Linked DNA regions of Homo sapiens: region 2 is linked to region 1. Evidence: promoter capture Hi-C in human tissues and cell types (Jung and others, 2019). All regions are on one chromosome and are shown on one strand. Each heading gives the region's core, a stretch centred on a gene start or on the middle of the fragment in contact. The rest is flanking DNA. Distances are from core to core; before and after follow the strand shown.

What was found. Contacts are between HindIII fragments. The study calls those that stand out against the background at their distance.
Region 2: the fragment with the promoter of ATG9B here is called in contact with the fragment with the promoter of ZNF862 in region 1 in 1 of the 25 tissues and cell types used here (dorsolateral prefrontal cortex).

What each region holds. Positions count from the first base shown.
Region 1 is chr7:149,835,268-149,841,559 of GRCh38, reverse strand. ZNF862 (zinc finger protein 862) reads right to left here and starts at 3,185. Exons shown (of 8, transcript NM_001099220.3): 1 at 2,925-3,185. The coding sequence starts at 2,948. RefSeq lists a silencer at 2,650-3,109. The HindIII fragment of the contact is 30,621 bases long and covers 1-6,292 here.
Region 2 is chr7:151,021,009-151,027,300 of GRCh38, reverse strand. It overlaps ATG9B (autophagy related 9B), which reads left to right and starts at 2,807. Exons shown (of 14, transcript NM_001317056.2): 1 at 2,807-3,427; 2 at 3,571-3,614; 3 at 3,792-3,856; 4 at 4,095-4,256; 5 at 5,972-6,113. The coding sequence starts at 2,878. LOC124901777 (a long non-coding RNA gene) reads left to right here. Exons shown (of 3, transcript XR_007060593.1): 2 at 289-494; 3 at 2,268-2,306. RefSeq lists enhancers at 1-82, 83-686, 1,292-1,896. The HindIII fragment of the contact is 10,457 bases long and covers 1-4,585 here.

The sequences.
Region 1 (6,292 bases), core at 1,936-4,435:
TCCTGAGACCCTATTAAATGCCAGGAACTGCTCCACTGTTCTAGCTGGGGATGTAAGAGTCAAGTCAACAAATACGTAAATAAATAAATGAACATGAGAATTTTATTTAGTGATAAGGGTTAGGAAGAAAATAAAACAGGATCATGGGATAGAACATGATGGGGAAAAGTCTGACCCTTATCCATTATTCTGTCAATGACAGGCAAGATGTCCTACATTCAATGTGGGATATCAATCCAATGGCCCAAGATGGCTGTCAGTTAATAAAGACCACAAAACAGCACCCAAGGAAGAGTCTAGTAATAGACCAAACCACTATCTCACGAGGTAGTCTCCCAGTTCTGAGCCATAAGAATGCTGTTCGGAGTGGAGTTGTAGAACAGCACCGCTATTCCTTGTCACTCATTTGCAACACATCTTACACTGACAGTTGGTTTTGTAATTACTTTATTTCATTCTTGTATGAAGTTCTCATTTCCCATATTAGAAAACAACTATCTTTGGGAAGGGTGAGCACCTTTCTGAGATACCCTAAAATCAAGATTATAATCAAGGGTGAAATTTCCAGTCTCTGAGGTTTCACTTAGTGGTTGGACAGGACACGGAATCAGGTTTCTCCTCTACCTCCCAAAATGTTTGTACAGTCATGTGTTGCTTAACAACAGGGATAAGTTCTAGGAAATGTGTCCTTAGGCAGTTCTGTCATTGTGGAACATCACAGAGTGTACTTATACAAAACTACATGGTACAGCCTACTACATATCTAGGCTATATGGTATATAGCCTTTTGCCCCCTAGGCTACAATCCTACACAGTATGTTACTGTACTGAAAACTGTAGGCCACTGTAACACATGGTAAGTATTTGCGTATCTAAACATAGAAAAGGTACAGTAAGAATATGGTAGAAAAGACAAAAAAAAAAAAAAGGTCCATCTGTATTGGGCACTTACCATGAATGGAGCTTGCAGGACTGGAAGTTGCTCTGGGTGAGTGAGTGAGTGAGTGAGTGAGTGGTGAGAGAATGTGAAGGCCTAGGACATGACTGAACACTTCTGTAGACTTTATAAACACTGCACACTAAGGCTACGCCGAATTTATCAAAAATTTTTCTTTCTTCAATAATAAATTAACCCTAGCTTATTGTAACTGTTTTACTTTATAAACTTAATTTTTTAAACTTTTGACTCTTTTGTAATAACACTTAGCTTAACACACATTGTACACCTGTACAATATTTTTCTTTAAATATTTTTGTATTTTTATTTTCCAGCAAACCATTCCATCAACAAAAAGTATTTTTCTTTATATTCTAATTCTATGAGGTTTTGTATTTTTAAATTTTTTTTTTTTTTTTTTTTTTTTTTTTTTTTACTTTTTAAGCTTTCTTAAAACCTAAGACACAAACACACACATTAGCCTAAGCCTACACAGGGTCAGGATCATGAAGATGTCACCAGGTGATAGGAATTTCTCAGCCCCACTGTAGTCTCAGGGGATTGTACGTGAGAGCGGTGTTGATGGAAACCTTGTTATACAGCGCATGACCGTATTTCTCTTCTCCCGTTAAAGGCTAAGAAAGCCTCTGACTGAACAGAATAGCTTGGAAATCAACTTCAAATCACTGATACCAATATCAATCCCAATATTTTATAATCCTTCTTCCCCCTACATTTTGCTTCTCTTTATTCAAATTCAGGTTCAATCTAAACCAATCTGGGGATATTTCCAAAGGGTAAGGGCCATAAGCTCCATCTTTGCTTGGGTTTTGTTGAGCTTTATTGGCTTGGACCACGTACTCTGTAGGTGCCGTGTCTGCTACATGCATCACTGTAGCTTGTGGAGGGAGGGAGGATGGAAGAGATGCTCATGCGAGAAATCACCTCTTTTGAAATTCAGAGTCCTTCCTAGTCTTCCCAGGAAAAACTACAGCATCAAAAGAACCTCATTATCCTTTTCTCTCTTTTCGTGTGGGACAACCCTTTCAGGCGTGTCCAAGTTATTGAAGTGAAAACTGCAGGAGAGCTCCTTGAGAAAGGTGATCATTTCCTATTTATCCTCATACTTCCAGCATCTCGTTCAATGCAAATCACAGATCACAAATGTTTATTAAATGGACAGTTTTTTAAGGGACTCAATAAACAGTCGAAAACGTTTGTTGAGAGAATTCTCCTCTGTGCCAAATAAGAAACAATACTCAAGAACTGGCAGCAAACAACATCCAGAAAGATGTTAGTCCCAAGAGGCTGCCACTGTCTCCAAGCTAATGTGCCCACAACCACACTGGTCTTGGATGACACGGCCTGGAAGCGCTGGCAATCCCGTCAAATCCCTGAACTCCGCCCCCAAGCACTTTCTTTCCACCTTTTCTTCCAACTCAAAGCCTCTTGCCCAAAGCCAATTTATGACACAGGTTTCTAAGCAATGCCCAGATATTCCATGAAGTACATAACCTAGAAACAGAAGTGGCAAAAAGCATGCCAGATGCCCTCTCTTTTCAGCCCTTTCTTGGTAAGGAGGATCTAGGCAGGGTCAAGCCCTCAAGCGTCCCACCCTGCAGCTCCCACTGGCGTCCGATCCAGACTCCAAGCCTTAGCAGGGCCTCTTCAAAACGCCGAAGGTGGTGGGGAAAACAGGAAGCACCTTCGCATCGCTCCACTCGGGGGTCACCCAACCCAGCATCGACCCAGCGGACGCTCGGCAGCTCGGGGAGGATGCGCGGACACCGAACGGAAGCGTCCGCTCCTCTCCGCCACCCTCCCGGGGTCGGGCGCCGAAGTGCGGGAAGAGAGGGCGGGCCGGCGAGTCCTTCCCTGCAAGCCTGGCTCATCTGCGGGGCCTCCGCCCGAGCCGCCCCGCCTCGCCCGAGCCCGGCTCGGGGATCCTCGGGAGGGAGCGGGCGGCCCCCGGGCCTTCCAGTCCTACCTTCCCCGACTCTCTGGGCTCCATGGCCCCGCTTTCGGAGGCCCGTGCCGCCCCCTCCCCCCGCGGCCTGGCCTGAGGATGCAGCCGCCGCGACCGCCCCGGGGACCCAGGCTCCCGGAGGGGGAGGGCACCCAGGTAGGGAGGGAGCGCGGCCCAAGAACTTCGCTCTCTCACGTCGGGGGGCGGTAGCGCCGGTGGACCCAGGATAAGCGCGCTGAGCTGAGACTTGCGTCGCACCGAGCGAACAGCTTTACGGTCACTGCCCAGCCCCAGGCGGCGGGGCGTGACGGGAAGTGTAGTCCGCTCTAGGTGAGCGGCTCTCGAAGCTGCTATTGGCTCCCGGAACGCAGGTCCTGATTGGACGCCGGCGGCGCGCTTGCGACCCTCCCCGCCTCCCTCCGGCGACAGTTACTAGGCAACGGCGGCGTGGCGTCCTTTAGTCCTCTGCAGCAAGGGCAAAGCGCTCTGATTGGGCTACGCGAAGGCCAATGTCAGCCTTGAAGTTCTAGGTTTTCTTTTATTAAGGAGGGCAATACTTTTTGTTCTATTCACTCAAAAAGTATCATTGGTTGCCTACCATGGGTCAGGCCGTGTTCTAGGGTTTGGGAGAACACAGTTGAATGAGACAAAGGCCTTGCCTTCAAGGAACTCACGATCTATTAGGGAATCAGACCAGAAACAGATAATTACAAAACAGAGACAAGGGCTATGAAAGAGGTAAGCACAAAACATGAATTAAAGCCCGCGTTGTCACCTTAGAGTGAAGCGGTGGGGGATATGAGGTGCTTAGTCAAGGATTTCCTGCGGAAGTGATGCCTCAGCAGAATTAAAGCAAGAGGTAGGGTCTGCCAGGTAAAGGAGGTGCAATGGACTGACCGGTGTTCCCCTCCCAGGAGATGGGGCGTTTGGGAGGTTTAGATGAAGTCGTGAGGGTCAGGCCCTTATGGTGGGATTAGTGTCCTTATAAGAAGTTTTGTCCAAGTGCGGTGGCTCACACCTCTAATCCCAACTCTTTGGGAGGCTGAGACAGGAGGATCACTTGAGCCCAGTAGTTTGAGACCAGCCTGTGCAACACAGTGAGAGATCCCATCTCTATAAAAATAAAATAATTTTGTGAGGTGGAAGGATCACTTGAGCCTGGGTGGTCGAGGCTGCAGTAAGCCGGGATGGCGCTTCTGCACTCCAGCCTGGGTGACAGAGCAAGACCATGTCTCAAAAAAAAAAAAGACTTTTAGGGGGCCAGGGCAGGGATGTGCCTTCATGAAGGTGTTAGTGACCACATGCGTGCTGGGGGAACTAGCTAGGCCCTTTGCCCTTCTGCCCCTCTGCCTTCTGCCATGTGAGGACAGAGCAAAAAGGTGCCCTCCTGGAAGCAGAGACCAGGCTCTCACCAGACACAGACACTGCTGGTGCTTTGATCTTGGATTTCCCAGCCTCCAGAATCATAAGAAATAAGTATCCATAATTTATAAATTACCTAGTTCCAGGGATTTTGTTACAGAAGCACATAGAGATTAAGACAATGGTCAACTAATTTTTTTGTATTTTTAGTAGAGACAGGGTTTCACCATGTTACACAGGCTTCAAGTAAGCGTTTTCCATTATCCAGCTCTGCTCTTCTGGCCAAGGTTGAATAGACCTAAATTCCGTTCGAGGAGTGTAGGGGAGTCTGCATTACTGAAAAAAAGAATGAGACACAAGAAATGTGGAGGAGAAGGCAGAGAGTGAGGACTCTGTGGATTCCAAGTGGCCTGCCACTCACCACCTCGACTATATCACTACCTTGAAGAGCTATATTTCTGCCCATGAGTTATCCATGTCTTTATAACAGATTCTCTTTTAGGGGTTAAAAAACTGGAGGACAGCTAGGGTAAATCATTCTTTTGACACATTTTTCCATAAAAGGTTTTCCATCTTTCCAAGAAAAATGGAGCAGTATCTAGGGGGAAATGGGGAATCAAAGCAGTAGGACTAAGATATGAGTCACAAGATCTTGTTTCTGTGTTGATGGGAAGGAAACTGATGATTCAAAGGGGGATAGTGCAAGGAACCAAGTCCTTGAGAAATCAGGAGGGTCTAGGAACAGGGTATCGAGGGCCCTTCCTAGGGATAGGAACACTTTTTTTTTTTTTTTTTTTTTTGAGATGGAGTCTCTCTCTGTCACCCAGGCTGGAGTGCAGTGGCTCAATCTTGGCTCACTGCAACCTCCACCTCCCAGGTTCAAACAATTCCCCTGTGTCAGCCTCCTGAGTAGCTGGGACTACAGGCGTGCACCATCACACCCTGCTAATTTTTGTATTTTTAGTAGAGACAGGATTTCACCATGTTGGCCAGGCTGGTCTCGAACTCCTGACCTCAAGTGATTCACCTGCATTGGCCTCCCAAAGTGCTGGGATTACAAGCCTGAACCACCGCGTCTGGCCGGGATAGCAACACTTTTGGTTATGCCAGGAGGGAAGAAGAAGATGGAGTAGATGTACATTTGTTTGTAGATTTACTGAGGGAATTTCCATCCGATGATGTCTCTTTGAGACAAGATCATCTCATGAAAATGAAGTGGGGAATAGAAGGTATACCAAGTCATCTTGGAGAATGGGAAATAGAGCTTACCTCAAACCTTGAATTAAAGGCCAATTTGAAGTTTATGATCACAAATTTCAGTTTAAAAAAAGCCTGGCTGCGAAATTCTGTTTAGAAGCAGAAAGTTGGGTAGATATTTGGCTTCATCCTGGCTTGGAGTATTGCCAGGTAGGTATGAAGGAGGCACAGAAAAGCAAGGGAATGAACAGTACTTGCAGGAGTAATTATGATGGTAGGAAAGTGATTCTCAATTCCAGCTGCACATTGGAATCACCCATGGACCTTTCAAACATCCTGATTTAATAGGCCTAGGATGGGGCATGGGCACTGATTTTTTTAATTTGTTTAATTTTTTTGTTTGTTTTTGTTTTTTAAGAGACAGGGTCTCACTCTGTCACCCAGACTGGAGGGCAGTTGCGTGATCTTGGCTGACTGCAGTCTTGACCTCCTGGGCTTAAGGTATCCTCCCACCTCACCCTTCCGAGTAGCTAGGACTACAGGAGTGTGCCATCACGCCTGGCTAGCTGTTTTTTTACTTTTTGTAGAGATGGGTTCTCACTATGTTGCCCAGGCTGATCTCAAACTTCCAGGCTCAAGTGATCAACCCGCCTCCCAAAGTGCTGGGATTATAGGCATGAGCCACCATGCCCAGCTGGCATTGATATTTTTTAAGAGCTCCTCATGTCATGTGCTTCTCACGTGCAGTTGGTGTTGAGAATCACTATATAGACCATGAATCTAAGCTGTGTCACGAGGGAAGATAGGAAACTAATAAAAAAGTGAGAAAG
Region 2 (6,292 bases), core at 1,558-4,057, 1.2 Mb before region 1:
GAGATTAGGGAGTGGTTTGAGATTAGGGAGTGGTGATGACTCTTAAGAAGCATGCTGCCTTCAAGAATTTGTTTAACAAAGCACACCGTGCACAGCCCTTAATCCATTTAACCCTGAGTTGACACAGCACATGTTTCAGGGAGCACAGGGTTGGGGGTAGGGTTACAGATCAACAGCATCTCAAGGCAGAAGAATTTTTCTTAGTACAGAACAAAATGGAGTCTCCTATGTCTACTTCTTTCTACACAGACACAGGAACAATCTGATCTCTCTTTCTTTTCCCCACAGTCACGTGTACTTGGGGAAGAACTCCCCCGGTGATTCTGACACTCTTGCCCTACGCCTCAGCCATTGAGAACTATTGGTATGGAGGGCCTGTAATTTATCAAGGCGCGGCCTCAGATCTGTCTGCCTCGCAGATACCTTCCTCACCCGGGTCAGAATGACTTGCCTCAGGCTCCTGCCAAAGAGTTTGCACCACTCGTTTCTTCCCTGTAATTACTTGTTTGCGTATTTGTCTCCCCACTGGGCTGCAGCTTCTTGGGTAGTGGCTCTGTTTTATTCATCTGTCCTCTTCCCTTCCAAATGCTTGGCAAGGAAAAGTGCCCTTTAAAATAAATCGACTTGAATTGGGAGTGGTGGTAGGGAGGCTGTCAATGAGAATGAATTCAGGGTGAAACTAGGTAGGACAATGTCCCAGGATTAGTTTGGGGTTGAGCTGGGGAGCTCTTGGTGTATGGGGGGGTCCTATTGTGACTATGGTGGAATAGCCACGATACTGAGTGACATTGGGCGAGTGAGGTGGGGGAGAGACTAGACAACACCCCACATAACCCATCTTGACAGATGTCTCAGAAAGATTATGGGAATTTCCTGGCCCCTCTGCAATGTGGGATTCCATTTTGCTACCTCTAGAAGGACAGGGTCTTGTTTTCATAGCTCTGCCTCCTACTCTGAGATAAAGGCATGCAAGACCTGAGCTACTACTACAATACCCCACACAGAAGGAGAAAATCAGGCACATCTGGATTCAAGTTTTGTGGGTGATTCCATGATTGCCTCCAGTGAACAATCTGGGAAGCACAGTGTCCATATCGCCATTTCAGGGGTACTGGCCCCAACATCAGCCCTTAGGCCTAAGCCCTAGAGACCTTGACACCTGGTGGCTGAGTCAGTATCTCAGTAATGGGCTTTAGAAGGAAACCTGGTGATTCAGGGCCTCAAGAATGGCGTTGGGCAAGCCACCAGACCAGCTGCCTGGGTCTCCTCCTCCTTGTTGAGGTGACAACAAGGAACTCAGTTCAGCTCCTCCCTGGGTATCCAAATTATCCTTCCAAGTCCCAGACTCACAGCTGTCCTCCCTTCTGATTCAGCCCTGATGCTTTTCAGGGGGTCCCAGAAGTGGGATCCGGACTTGAGAGAATGTCACAGTTGAAAATGATAAGGATGCAAACGGAATGGAACTTTCAGAGAACCCCAATTTTCTACTCTAAGTTCTCCAAACCAACTCTCAAATCCAAGATAGCTGCCTTTCCTTTCTTCACCTCCTCTTCTTAGTTTTCCCCAACTTGGCTGCAAAGTCAGCCTCCCCTCTTCTCTTCCTTAGCACCTCAGACCAATAAAACATGCAACCTTTTCTTATTCTTTTTAAAAAATTTATTTTTGACCAGGCGCAGTGGCTCACGCCTGTAATGCCAGCACTTTGGGAGGCCAAGGCGGGTGGATCACGAGGTCAGGAGTTCAAGACCAGCCTGGCCAACATGGTGAAACCCCATCTCTACTAAAAATACAAAAAATTAGCTGGGTGTGGTGGCACACACCTGTAGTCTCAGCTACTCAGGAGGCTGAAGCAGAAGAATCACTTGAACTTGGGAGGCGGAGGTTGCAGTGAGCCGAGATTGTGCCACTATACTCCAGTCTGGGTGACAGAGTGAGACTGCCTCAAAAAGAAAAAAAATTATTTTGTTTGTTTTTTAGATTTTGTAGAGATGGTGTTTCCCTAAGTTGCTCAGGCTGGTCTCGAACTCCTGGCCTCAAGTGATCCTCTCGCCCGGGCCTCCCAAAGTCCTGGGATTACGGGTGTAAGCCAACATGCCTGGCCCCTTTACTTCTTCTTTTCTGTTTTGGTCACAAAACATTTCTCTGTTGATCACTGTAGTGTGTGTGTGGAGGGAAGTGGGGGAGGTACACTCTTAAGAAATGAAATAGTTAACATCTTGGTCCTAAGATTTGTTGTAGAGATGGAGTCTTCTCATTCTGTTCCCCAGGCTGGTCTTGAACTCCTGGCCTCAAGCAATCCTCTTTCCTCGGCTTCCCAAAGTGCTGAGATTGATTACAAGTGTGAGGTACTGCGCCCTGCTACAATCCTTTAATAGGATGTTTTTGGGGGGGGTGGCAGGGGGCAGGATCTAGCTCACTGTAACCTATACTGTTCCAGTGTAACCTGCACCAAGCCATCCTCCCACCTCAGTCTCTTGAGTAGCTAGGAACACAAGCACACATCACCACACCTGGCTCTAACACGATTTTGCTTTTTGCTTTTGTCATTTTGGCTGCTGTTCTTTTTATCTTTCATTCATTCAAGGTCTGAAGATGGAGATAATAGGAATCTTCTCATCTCAATGTGCTCTTTGGCCCCTCCTCTTAAACTGATGCCCCTCTCAGGCCCTGAGGGATTTGGCCTCAGGTTGCCCTGGAAGGGGTGTGAGTGATCAGACAGGTGACTGAGAGCTGGGACGCCTGAGGCCTGCCTAGGCTGAGTCACCTAGTAATGTTGTTGTCATTGTTCCTGTTGAAGTCCCAGCTCAGTGTCACAGACCTTTGTGGAAGCAACAACAGCTCCCATCCTTCCAACCTTTCTGGAGAAGCCGTGGCCTGATGGTGAGCCGAATGGGCTGGGGGGGGAGAAGAAGGCGGCTGGGGCGGTGGGGAGATCTGGGGCCCGGATCGGTGCCCCTCCTCCCCATGCCACTGCCACCTCCTCCTCCTCCTTCATGCCGGGGACCTGGGGGAGGGAGGATCTCCATCTTCTCTCTGTCCCCTGCCCCTCATACAAGAAGCTCCCCCTCCTCATTTTCCCCTCCCACCGCAGGGCCCCCTTGCTCAGTGCTACAGGGGACAGGGGCTTCTCAGTCTTGCCACAGTGCTCTCCCTATCCCAGCCACCCCCCCAACACAGGCTCAACCTGCAATGACACCTGCCTCTGCATCTCCCTCCTGGGGATCCCACTCCACCCCACCCCTGGCCCCGGCAACCCCCACTCCCTCACAGCAGTGCCCCCAGGACTCTCCTGGGCTGCGGGTAGGCCCTTTGATCCCTGAACAGGATTATGAGCGGCTGGAGGACTGTGACCCTGAGGGGTCCCAAGACTCACCCATCCACGGGGAGGAGCAGCAACCCCTGCTTCATGTCCCTGAAGGGCTCCGAGGTATGTGTGTGGGTGTGGGTGGGAGAGGGTTAGTGGTGCCTGGGAGCTCCAGTACTTATCCCAGGCTGGGCCTCTGGCAGCGGGTTGAGAACGTGGAGAATTGATCACATGCCAGGGGCTGACACTCTCCCCTCTGTGCCCAGGCTCCTGGCATCACATCCAGAACCTGGACAGTTTCTTCACCAAGATATCCTTTGCGCTAGGCCTGCAGAGGTGGCATGGGAAGGTCCTCTTGGAGCTGGCACTGTTCTTGGCAGGGAGACTCCGTGAGGGCGTCATGGGTGGGAGACTTGTTGGGGCTGAGGGGAGGTGTCCTCAGGAGAGGCCCCCCGTGCCTCAGGCTTGTTCCTTGACACGCAGCCACATCTACAGCTACCACCAGCGGAATGGCTTTGCCTGCATCTTGCTGGAGGATGTCTTCCAGCTGGGGTGAGACGCTTAGCCCGGGCCCGGAACTCGGTCCCCTGGGCCCATGGCTTCCTTCTGTCATTTTGCTTCCTTAATTGTGCCAGCTGCTTCCATCCCATGCTTTCCCGAGCAGCCCAAGGGCTCAGCAGGGGCAGGGTCAGGGAGGATAACCATGGGCTGCTCTGGGGGCTGGGGCAGGAGCCCACCTGGCTGTCCCTGATCACTGCAGCATCCCGGCACCCCCCCTTCCTCCCGGCAGACAATTTATTTTCATTGTCACCTTCACAACCTTCCTCCTTCGATGCGTGGATTACAATGTTCTCTTTGCCAACCAACCAAGTAACCATACCAGACCTGGGCCGTTCCACAGCAAAGTGACCCTGTCAGATGCCATCCTACCCTCAGCCCAGTGTGCTGAGAGGTTAGTGACAACCTGGTGGGGCCCTGGGGGTGAAGCATGGGCAGTGGGTAGAGGAGTAGACGGGAGCCCCACTTTGTCCCGTCATCTAGATCAGCAGTTCTCAAAGCTTTTGGTCTTAGGACCAAAAATACACTTAATATACTTTAAGTTGTACTTAAGTGTATTAAGTTGTACTTAAAGTGTATTAAGTATATCTTTTTTTTTTTTTAAGACAGAGTTTCACTCTTGTTGCTCAGGCTGGAGTGCAATGGTGAGGTCTTGGCTCACTGCAACCTCCACCTCCCAGGTTCAAGCAATTCTCCTGCCTCAGCCTCCCCAGTAGCTGGGATTATAGGCGTGCACCACCACGTGTATTTTTAGTAGAGACAGGGTTTCACCATGTTGGCCAGGCTGGTCTGGAACTCCTGGCCTCAGGTGATCCACCCACTTTGGCCTCCCAAAGTGCTGGGATTACAGGTGTGAGCCACTGTGCCCGGCCTTTTAAGTGTATCTTAATTACAGTGCATTAAGTGTATCTTAATACACTTAAAATTGGTTGAGAATCCTGAAAAGCTTTTGTTTATGGGAGTCGTATCTATCCACATTTTACCTTATAAAAAATTAAAATTAGGCCGGGCATAGTGGTTCACACCTGTAATCCCAGCACTTTGGGAGGCTGAGGCAGGAGGATTGCTTGAAGCCAGAAGTTTGAGATCAGCCTGAGCAACAAAGTGAGACCACATCTCTATAAAAAATAAAAATTAGCTGGGCTTGGTGGTGCGTACCTGCAGTCCTAGCTAAGCCTAGTCAGGAGGCTAAGACAGTGACTGTCTCTGATCACTGCAGCATCCCTACACCCTCCTCCCTCCCAGCAGACGATTCATTTTCATTGTTGCCTTCACAACCTTCCTCCCTGAAGCATGGATTGCAATGTTCTCTTTGCCAACCAACCAAATAACTGTTCCAGACCTGGGCCGTTATTTGGCAGGGAGATAGGAGCTATGTTTCTACTGCTGCACTACAGCCTGGGTAACAGAGAGAGACCTTGTTTCAATAAAAAGGAAAAAAAAAAAAGAAGGAAATTGTAGCTGAGAACAACTTTAAAATGTAAGAGTGCGGCTGGGCGTGGTGGCTCACACCTGTAATCTCAGCACTTTGGGAGGCCGAGGCGGGCGGATCACAAGGTCAGGAGATCAAAACCATTCTGGCCAACATGGTGAAACCCTGTCTCTACTAAAATATACAAAAATTAGCCAGGTGTGGTGGCGGGCGCCTGTAGTCCCAGCTACCCTGGAGGCTGAGACAGGAGAATCATTTGAACCCGGGAGGTGGAGGTTGCAGTGAGCCAAGATTGCGCCACTGCACTCCAGCCTGGGCGACACAGCAAGACTCCATCTCAAAAAAAAAAAAAAAGAGTGTACAAGCACACATTTCATCAGCTGTCAGTGTGATGTGACATGTTCACGTGTCTTGTAGCCTCTGGAAAACTCCACTGTACTCTCAGAGTACAAGAATGAAAACATCAGAAAGCATTAGTATTATTTGGAAAAAGTTTGACTTTGCACATTTGTGAAGGCCACTTCAGCACCCACCCCCTGCCCCGGGCTCTACCTTGAGAGCTGCTGGTCTAGCTAGATCCCCCTCCTCATGATGGTTTTTCCTCACTCCCGAAGTCTGGTCTGCCTCTTTCTCAGGCGCCCACCTTTCTCCCCCACTGCCCGCCCAACCCCATACAGGATCCGCTCCAGCCCGCTGCTGGTCCTCCTCCTGGTCCTGGCTGCCGGCTTCTGGCTGGTCCAACTGCTTCGCTCAGTCTGCAACCTCTTCAGCTACTGGGACATCCAGGTGTTTTACAGGGAGGCCCTGCACATCCCCCCGGTGAGCTGGGTGGCTGTGTCTGTGCAGAGGGTGCCGTGAGAGGGTGGGCAGAGGAGAGGGGAAGAAGTGGGACTGTACAGGTGGAAGGGCCAACTGGAAAGAGGGCAGAAAGAGCGAGGTCTTATTGACACCTGCCCTAGGCCCAGAATAATGTCAGGAGGGGGCTACCACCACCTAGA